2 separate regions of the Homo sapiens genome follow, and region 2 is linked to region 1. Evidence: promoter capture Hi-C in 16 types of primary human blood cells and fetal thymus (Javierre and others, 2016). All regions are on one chromosome and are shown on one strand. The core of a region is centred on a gene start or on the middle of the fragment in contact, and the rest is flanking DNA. Distances in the headings are between cores, read along the strand shown. Region 1 holds the start of SLCO1C1 (solute carrier organic anion transporter family member 1C1). Region 2 has its middle 260 kb from the start of AEBP2.

Region 1 (4,717 bases), core at 1,148-3,647:
AAGGCAAAACCTGATTAGAGTTGGTGAAAAATGAACTGGAGGAGAGGAAATATATACAAGGAATGTGACTAAAGTTTGGGCTTAGAAACATGGACTGTAGGAGCAAGAAGGAAGACAGCTAATAGCAATGTACATTTGGGTAGAGAGTAGATGTCATGAGGACAGAGTATAATATTTCTCCTGATATTTCTGTTTAGTTAGTGAATTTCCTAGACAAGATCATCAGCTAATAATCAGGGTGCAGCCAGAAATGAAGATTTGAGAGAGGTAAAGTGATTGGGTCATTAAAAAGTATTACGTCTAGCAATGCCTCTATGACTCAGTGAGTTTAGTGGTTATAAATATAAAATAAGCCCTAAGGGCATGTTACTGAGTTGTTCTTCAATCACTTAAAACAGTGCGGATGCAAATACTAAGAAGAAAGAAAGTGGATTTATCTGAGGTGAGCTTTGCCTGGGAAGATCAATAAATTGAAAGAGAAACAGGAGAATTGAGGGTATACAGAAGGAAGTGATTAAAATAATTGCATGAAAAAATTCAAGTAAGGAGGAAAATGAAAATATGAGTGTACTGGCTTGAATTGTGTCTCCCAAAAAGATATGAGGAAGTCCTAACCCCCGGTACCTGTGAATGTCACCTTTCCTGAAAAGAGAGTCTTAGCAGACCTTATCAAGTTAAGATGAGGTCATGAGGGTGGTCCCCAGCCAAAGATGACTAGCGTTTTTTTAAGTACAGAGGACAGAGACATAAAGGGAGAAGATGGCCATGTGGTAACAGAAGCAGCTGTTGGAGTGATACACCTATAAAACAAGGAGTTCAGGCTGTCAGCAAACACCAGGAGGTGGAAGAGGTAAGGAGGATTCTTCCCTACAGGTCTCAGAGGGAGCATGGCTCTGCTGACACCTTGATTTTTGACTTCTGGCCTCCAAAAGTGTGAGACAATAAAGTTCTGTTTTAGGTCACTCAGCTTGTAGTACTTTGTTAGTGCAGTCTTAGGAAATGCATTCATTTATATGTTGTCTGTGGTTAATTTACCACCAGAATGGCAGAGGTGAGTGGTTGTGATAGAGATTGCATGGTCCTACAAAACCTAAAATATTTCTTATTTGTCCCTTTATAGAAGTTTGTTAACTCCCTCATCTAGAGTTTGGAAATGGGAATGAAAGGCTGAAGTAGGCTACAATCCAATGCAAGGTTGCACATAAGAAGCTCTGAATAAGTGTAAACATTATGTGCATTCAAAACAGTAACATTAACTGTGGACTCTGGAAATAAGAAAAGGAATCGTGTTGGAGAGTGAGACTGAGCCAGTTGGGAATAGACAAAATTACATTCTCAAGGGAGAATTTCATTTCTTGGTGAGGAAAATTATGCCCTTTGGGCTGGTAAATACTGTCTCCTCTTGAATAAAACAGTGGTCTGGCCACCTGTTAGACACTGAGAAGTCTAGACTAACACTCAATGTATTCGGATGTTTGCTCACTATTTCCGATGGAAAAGTCTGGTTTGATTGTTAAAGTAAAATATTTGGCCTTTCAGAGTGTGAAAACACCATTGCTTCATTGCAAGGTTTAATATAAACCCATTTTTCTTGCATTTTCTTTTCTTTCTTTTGTAGTAAAATGTGCTTGAATAATATTAACTATTCTGACCATTATGTGAACTAAATATATATATATATAAAATGATGATACCTTCCGCTCATTTGCAATGTGCTTTTGAATACATTATATAATTTAATCCTTAAAACAGCCCTATAAATCTGTTTTTTTTTTTTTTAAACAAAAAAATTCTGCTTTACAAAGGAAGAAGTTGAGACTCAGTAAAATTAAGTGACCATCCCAGAGTCTCAGCCACTTAAGAGTAGGGTGAATCTTGGATAATTCTGGTAGCAAATTTATTTATTGGTAGAAAATAAATGCAAACTACTACTGCTTAAGATCCTCTAAAGTTTTTCTCTTGGAAAAAGAATGTATTAGAATTGTGGACTTTCTCAGTGCAAGGATTTATTTATCCTTGGAATTAGGCAGAATAAACAATTGAATGCCAAAAATTCAACGTGTTTCTTTTCTGTTTTCAAAACTCATAGAAATTGTAAATATGAGCAACTGATCATGTCTCTGAGAATTAACTCTTTTTGTACAGAGCGCTGCAGAGCTTTGATTGTGACCTGATACTTGGTCCTTAAAGATTCTAGAACACCAATGGAAAAGAAAACCATGTAGCAAATTAGCCCAAGAACCGTTAAAGACAAAACAAAACAAACCAAAACCAAAACACACAAACAAAGAAAACACAAGGATCCCAGTGATGTCCCTAAGGAATAGTTGGCTTAAAAACTTTCTGGAAGGAGGAGGGGTCTCTGTTATAAACTTCCGCCCTCCTCTGGCTTCTGTTCCTTACCCTCTGCCCCCTGCGGAGTTGTGTTTTCTGGGAATCAGCAAGTAAGATCACAAGTGGTCTTTTCTTTTATTCACTCTCTCCCATAAAGAAAGCTTTATCACGTGTGGCCTTAAACTTGCAGCAAATTGCAAAGAAATGGCTCAAAAGCTTCAGCTCTTTCTGTGCCCTGGGAGCTGAGATGCACGTCAGTGGCCTTGCCAGCGTGGCCAATTCTCTGCTGACTGCCAGAAAAAAGAGGCCAGGAAGAAAGAGGAAAGAGAAGAGATCGCTCAGGGGTGAGACCATGCCCTTCATCTTTTCTTTTCCCTAATCTCCTCTGCTTGTGTCCACCCACACTCTCCCCACCTGGCAAAATTGTTCAAAATTGCTGTGGAGTTTACCTCAGTTTCCTCTTTCAGTCTGTGGTGTGTGGTCCATCCTCTTGCTGAGCACATTGAAAGGAACTGGCTATCTTTGATCTCTTCCTCCAGGTAAGACTTGGTTCTCTCATTTTATATTTTGTGACTAATACATCAGATTCTTATGGGAGATTAACCCTTAATTTCTGTGCGATTTATGTTTTATCCATAAAAATATCAGTGAAAGGTGATGATCCCCTCATTAGTTTGATGGAAATAAGAGAGAAGATTGGTTAAAGAAATCAGATAAACTCAAATTTGAGTTCAAATTTTGAGTCTCATGCTTATAAATTGTTTAGCTTTTGACAAGTCACTTAATTGCTTTGGGCCATCTAATTTAAAAAATGGAATTCTAATATTACGTTTGTTGGGTTGTTTTAAGGATTAGAAAAAGTACGTACATTACTCAACACAAAAATAGTACTTATTAAATCTGAATCTGACACAGATAATTTGTATTAGGTGAGAAATTAGTTTCTAAACAACACACACTCCTCTGCAGCAAGTGCCGTGAGGCTATTTTTTAGTTTGTCTGAAGGGAGGCATCCTGGTGTCCAGAAGTCAAGCCAGGACAGAGGTTTTCCTCACAGGAGATGGCCAAGAGAAGAGAGGGAGGAGCGTGGTTGCCTTTAGGACTTTCTCTGTGGCAGTCCTTGGGGACTGATTGCTGGACAGAGTCCGAGTCAGTTGCAGAGCAGAGGGGTTGAGTACATCTGCGGGATCTAACTACAACCTTCCTAAGCCACTTGCTCTCTCCATTTAAAATCTGGAGGGCTGATTTTGAAACTAATGAGGACTGATTATTCAATGTTTTTGAACCAAAGGAAGAGAAACTGCTTGGCTTGTTTTTCTTTGGCCTCCAGAATAAGTTATGCTCCAAACCCAGGGTATTGGATGAAAACTGTCGTATGTCTTTTCCTGGAAGAATCTATTCAAGTGGCCAGAGATCAATTAAGGATTTGCCAAATGCAAATAATTCTGAATAACTGTGTACTCTTGCTCTACTTCTGCAGTTGCAAATGAAGAGAGAGAGCCTGCAGGCCCCAAGGATCTTTCCGTTCATGTCATTGAGCTTCCTTCCCTCTCTTTTTACAGGGGATGAACTGTAGCCTCCTTGGAACATACTACACTTGCAATAATTTGCGCATTAACCATCAAGACACTTCAGTAAAGCTATGCAGTGCCAATAGTTTAAGCTGGATCCTATTTTGCCCTAACACAAAGTGAACTGAGATGACTATATTTATATTTCATTATACTTTTGAATTTTAGTTACAGTGATTTTTGTGTCAACACCTCCATATATTAGATAACTTAAAATGTGCTATAGTATCTCAAGTTTTTCAGTAGTGTTTTTAACATAATTATTTTTTCTCTTTGACATTAGCATTCTAGATGTAACACTTTGGATCTTTTAAAGATAAATTTAGGATAAATGATAGCAGATTTTATTATTAAACAATTTATTTGTATTTTCTGGTCACTGACTTTAATATTATGACTGATGAGAAATAATATGATATCTGAATCCCCAAAAACAGAAGGCCAATTTGAATTATATAATTTAATCCTTTGAAGAATATTGCAATTTAAGCCAGAAATTTAATAATTATCCGTTTCTTATTTTAAAACCTTTCTGGTTTGTATATCTCTTGCTTGGCAATATTTTTACTCATAGTTTTGTAGTAAAGATACCTATTTAACATTGTATAACTCTGCATTTCCCAAACCCTGTTTTCCTTGTCCTGGCAAAATACTGTTCTAGAAAAGTAGTCCTAGTGACTCAGTAGATATAGGAAGTTGGCTGTTGGTATCAGATACTGTTAAGGAAGAATCTCTATATTCTTCATTTCTTAAACTTTGTTTTTTAAATCAGTAATAGATGTCGAATTTTATCAACTGATGTTTTTCATGTA
Region 2 (4,717 bases), core at 1,612-4,111, 990 kb before region 1:
GCTGATAAACTCACTTCAAGAATTTCATAATACAATTGCAAGTATTAAAAGCAGAATCTACTGAGGAAAGAATCTCAGAACTTGAAAACTACTTCTCTGAAATAACTCAAAGATAAAAAAGCAAAAAGAAGAATAAGCAAAACTTCAGAGAAATATGGGATTATGTAAAGAGATCAAATCAACGACTCCTTAGTGTCCCTGAAAGACAGGAAGAGAGAGAAATTAACTTGGAAAATATATTTGATGATATTTTCTCTGAAAATTTCCCCAATCTTGCTAGAGAGACCAACATTTAAATTCATGAAATGCAGAGAACCCCGGCATGATACTATACAAGGTGATCATCCCCAAGACACATAATCATCAGATTCTCTAAGGTCTAAATGAAAGAAAAAAAAAATGTTACAGGCAGCTAGAGAAAAGCAGCAGGTCACCTACAAAGGGAAACCCATCAGGCTAACAGTGAACTTTTCAGCAGAAACCCTACAAGCCAGAAGAGATTGGTGGCCTATATTTGGCATTCTTGAGAAATTCCAACCAAGAATTTCATATGCAGCAAACTAAGCTTCATAAGCAAAGGAGAAATAAGATTCTTTTCAGACAAGCAAATGCTAAGAAAATTTGTTGCCACCAGACCTGTTTTGCAAGAGGCCCTCAGGGCAGTACTAAATAACAAAAAGACCATTACTGGCCACCATGGAAACACACTTAAGAACATAGAACATAAACACTAAAATAAATTAATAAATAAAACCAAACAACAACAACAACAAAAACACACAATCAAGTCAGTATTATAACCAGCTGACAACAAGATGACAGCATCAAATCTGTACATATCAATATTAATCTTGAATGTAAATGGGCTAAATGCCCCAATTAAAAGACACGGAGAGGAAAGTTTGATAAGGAAGCAAGAACCAATTTTGTGTTGTTTTCAAGAGACTCATCTAACATGCAATAACACCCAGAGCCTCAAAGTAAAGGAATGGAGAGTAATCTAAGCAAATAAAAAAACAGAAAAAAGCAGGGATTGCTATTCTAATTTCAGACAAAACAGACATTTAAACAACAATCAAAAGAGACAAAAAAGGCATTACATAATGATAAAGGGTTTAGTTCAACAAGAAGACCTAACTATTCAAAATACACATGCACCAAACACAGGAGCACCTAGATTAATAAAGCAAATCCTCAGAGACCTAGCTAAGTGTAAGAGACACAGATAACTACACAATAATAGCGGGAGAATTTAACACCCCACTGACAGTATTAGACAGATCACTGAGGCAGAAAACCAAGATATTTGTAAACTGAACTTGATGCTTGACCAAATGGACCTAATAGACATCTACAGAACTCTCCACCCAAAACAATGGAATGTACATTCTTCTCATCTATCTGTACATGGTACTTACTCTACAACTGACCACACAATCAGACATAAAGCAAGCCTCAGCAAATAGAAATCATACCAACCACACTCTCAGACCACAGTGCAATGAAAATAAAAATTAATACTAAGAAGATTGCTCAAAACCTTACAATTACATAGAAATTACACAACTTGTTCCTGAATAAGTTTTGGAAAAACAATGAAATTAAGGCAGAGATAAAGAAATTCTTTGAAAATAATGAGAGCAAGATACAACATATCAGAATTTATGGGACTCAGCTAAAGCACTGTTGAAAGTTTATAACACGTAAACACTCCCGTCAAAAAGTTAGAAAGATTTTATGTAAACAACCTAACATCACACCTAAAGGAATTAGAAAAACGAGAGCAAACCAACCCCAAAGCTAGCAGAAGACAGGAAATAACCAAAATCAGAATTGAACTGAAGGAAATAGAGACACGAAAACTCAAAAAAAAAAAAAAAAAGATTTTAGATTGCTAGCTAGACTAAAAAGAAAAAGATCCCCCCCCCCCCCACCAAATGCAATCAGAAATGACAAAGGGGACATTACCGTTGACCCCACAGAAGTACAAAAACCCTCAGAGACTATTATGAACACCTCTATGCACACAAACTACAAAACCTCAAAGAAATGGATCAATTCTTGGAAAAGTACAATGTCCAATGATTGAACCAGGAAGAAACTGAATCTCTGAACAGATTAATACTGAGTTCCAAAATTGAATCAGTAATTAAAAGCCTACCATCCAAAAAAATTCCAGGCCCAGGCATATTCACAGCTGAATTCTACCAGACATGTAAAGAAGAGCTGGTACCATTCCTACTGAAACTATTCTGAAAAATTGAGGAGGAGGGACTCATTCCTAACTCATTGTATGAAACCAGCATCATTCTGATACAAAAACCTGGCAGAGACACAACCAAAAAACAAACAAACAAACAAACACACAATAAAAAAAAAAACTTCAGGCAAATATCCTTGATGAATATCAATGCAAAAGTTCTCAAGAAAAATACTAGCAAACTGAATCCAGAAGCATATAAAAAACCTTATCCAGGAAAATCAAGTAGGCTTTATCCCTGGGTTGCAAGGTTGGTTCAACATGTAAATCAATAAATGTCATTCATCACATAAACAGAACTAAAAATGAAAACAAATTATCATCTCAGTAGATGCAGAAAAGACTTGATAAAATTCAACACCTCTTCATGTTAAAAACTCTCAAACTAGGCATGGAAGGAGTATACCTCAAAATAAGAGCCATCCATCACAAACCCACAGCCAACATCATACTGGACAAACAAAAGCTGGAAACACTCTCCTTAATCAGAACAAGAAAAGGATGTCCACTCTCACCATGCCTATTCAACATAGTACTGGAAGTCCTAGTCAGAGCAATCAGGCCAGAGAAAGAAATAAAAGGCATCCAAATAGGAAGAGAAAAATCAAACTATCTTTGTTTACAGATGATCTGATTCTACACCTAGAAAACCCTATAGTCTCTGCCCAAAAGCCCCTTGATCTGTTAAACAACTTCAGTAAAGTTTCAGGATGCAAAATCAATGTACGAAAATCAGCAGCATTCCCATACACCAACCACATCCAAGCTGAGAGCCAAATCAAGAATGCAACCCCATTCACAAAAGCCACAAAAAGAATAAAATACCTAGGAATACAGCTAACCAGAGAATGAAAGATCTCTGCAATGATAGTTACAAAACACTGCTGAAAGAAATCAGATGACACAAATGGAAAAACATTCCATGCTCATAGATAGGAAGAATCAATATTGTCAAAATAGCCACACTGCTCAAAGCAATCTAAAGATTCAGTGCTATTCCTATCAAACTACCAATGACATTCTTCACAGAATTAGAAAAAAACTATTTTAAAATTAATATGGAACCAAAAAAGAGCCTGAATAGCCAAAGCAATCCTAAGCAAAAAGAACAAAGCTGGAGACATCACACTACCCAACATGAAATGATACTACAAGGCTGCAGTAACCAAAATAGCATGGTACTGGTACAAAAATAGACACACAGAACAATGGAATAGAATAGAAAGCCCAGAAATAGAGGTACACACCTTCAAACATCTGATCTTTGACAAAGTCTACAGAAACAAGCAATGGAGAAGGACTCTGTATTCAATAAATGGTACTGGGGAAACTGGCTAGCCATATGCAGAAGATTGAAACTGGACTCCTTTCTTGTATACCATATACAAAAATCGACTTGAGATTTGTTAAAGACTTAATGTAAAATCTAAAACTAAAAATCCTAGAAGAAAACTTAGGAAATACCATTCTGGACACAGATCCTGGCAAAGATTTCATGATGAAGAGATGAAGATGGTAAAAATAATTACAACAAAAACAAAAATTGACAAGTGGGACCTAACAAACCAAAGTACTTCTGCACAGCAAAACCAAAACAAAAACAAACAAAACCTATCAACAGAATAAACAGACAACCTACGGAATGGGAGAAAATATTTGGAAACTACACATTCAACAAAGGTTAAAATCCAGAATCTATAAGAAACTTAAACAAATTTGCAAGCAAAAAACAACCCTGTTGAAAAGTAGACAAAGACATGAACAGACACTTTTCAAAAGAAGACATACATGCGGTCAACAAGCATGTGAAAAAACCCTCAACATCACTAATCATTAGAAAAATGCAAATCAAAACCACAATGAGATACTGTCACATACCAGTGAGAATGGCTGTTATTAAAAAGTGAAAAAATAACAGATGCTGGTGAGGTTGTAGAGAAAAGGGAATGCTTATACACTGCTGGTGGGAAAGTAAATTATTAGTAGTTCACTTATTGTAGAAAGCAGTTAAGCCTTTCTCAAAGAGCTTAAAAGGGTATATACCCAGTAATGGATATAGTACACAGGCATATATACACATATGCACAATGGAATACTATACAGCCATAAAACAGAATGAGATCATGTCCTTTGTAGCAATATAGATGGATTTGGAGGCCATTATCCAAAGTGAACTAATGTGGGAACAGAAAAGGAAATACCACATGTTCTCAAGTATAAGTGGGAGCTGGAGGCCATTATCGTAAGTGAACTCATGCAGGAACAGAAAACCAAATACTACATGTTCTCATTTATAAGTGGGAGCTAAATATTGAGTACACATGGACACAGAGATGGGAACAACAGACACCAGGGCCTACCTGAGGGTGAAAAATGGGAGGAGGGTGATGATAGAAAAAAAAATTTACCTGTCAGGTACTGTGCTTATTACCTGGGTGATGAAATCTGTATACCAAA

Evidence for each region. Contacts are between HindIII fragments. The CHiCAGO score rates a contact against its expected background, and 5 or more counts as called.
Region 2: a fragment that was not itself captured here is called in contact with the fragment with the promoter of SLCO1C1 in region 1 in 1 of 17 cell types (monocytes); the score reaches 5.3 in monocytes.

The regions. Positions count from the first base shown.
Region 1 is chr12:20,692,935-20,697,651 of GRCh38, forward strand. It overlaps SLCO1C1 (solute carrier organic anion transporter family member 1C1), which reads left to right and starts at 2,398. Exons shown (of 15, transcript NM_017435.5): 1 at 2,398-2,873. The HindIII fragment of the contact is 4,383 bases long and covers 1-2,493 here.
Region 2 is chr12:19,702,111-19,706,827 of GRCh38, forward strand. No RefSeq gene overlaps it. Among named protein-coding and RNA genes, the nearest start is that of AEBP2, 260 kb to the left of the region's middle. The HindIII fragment of the contact is 4,597 bases long and covers 564-4,717 here.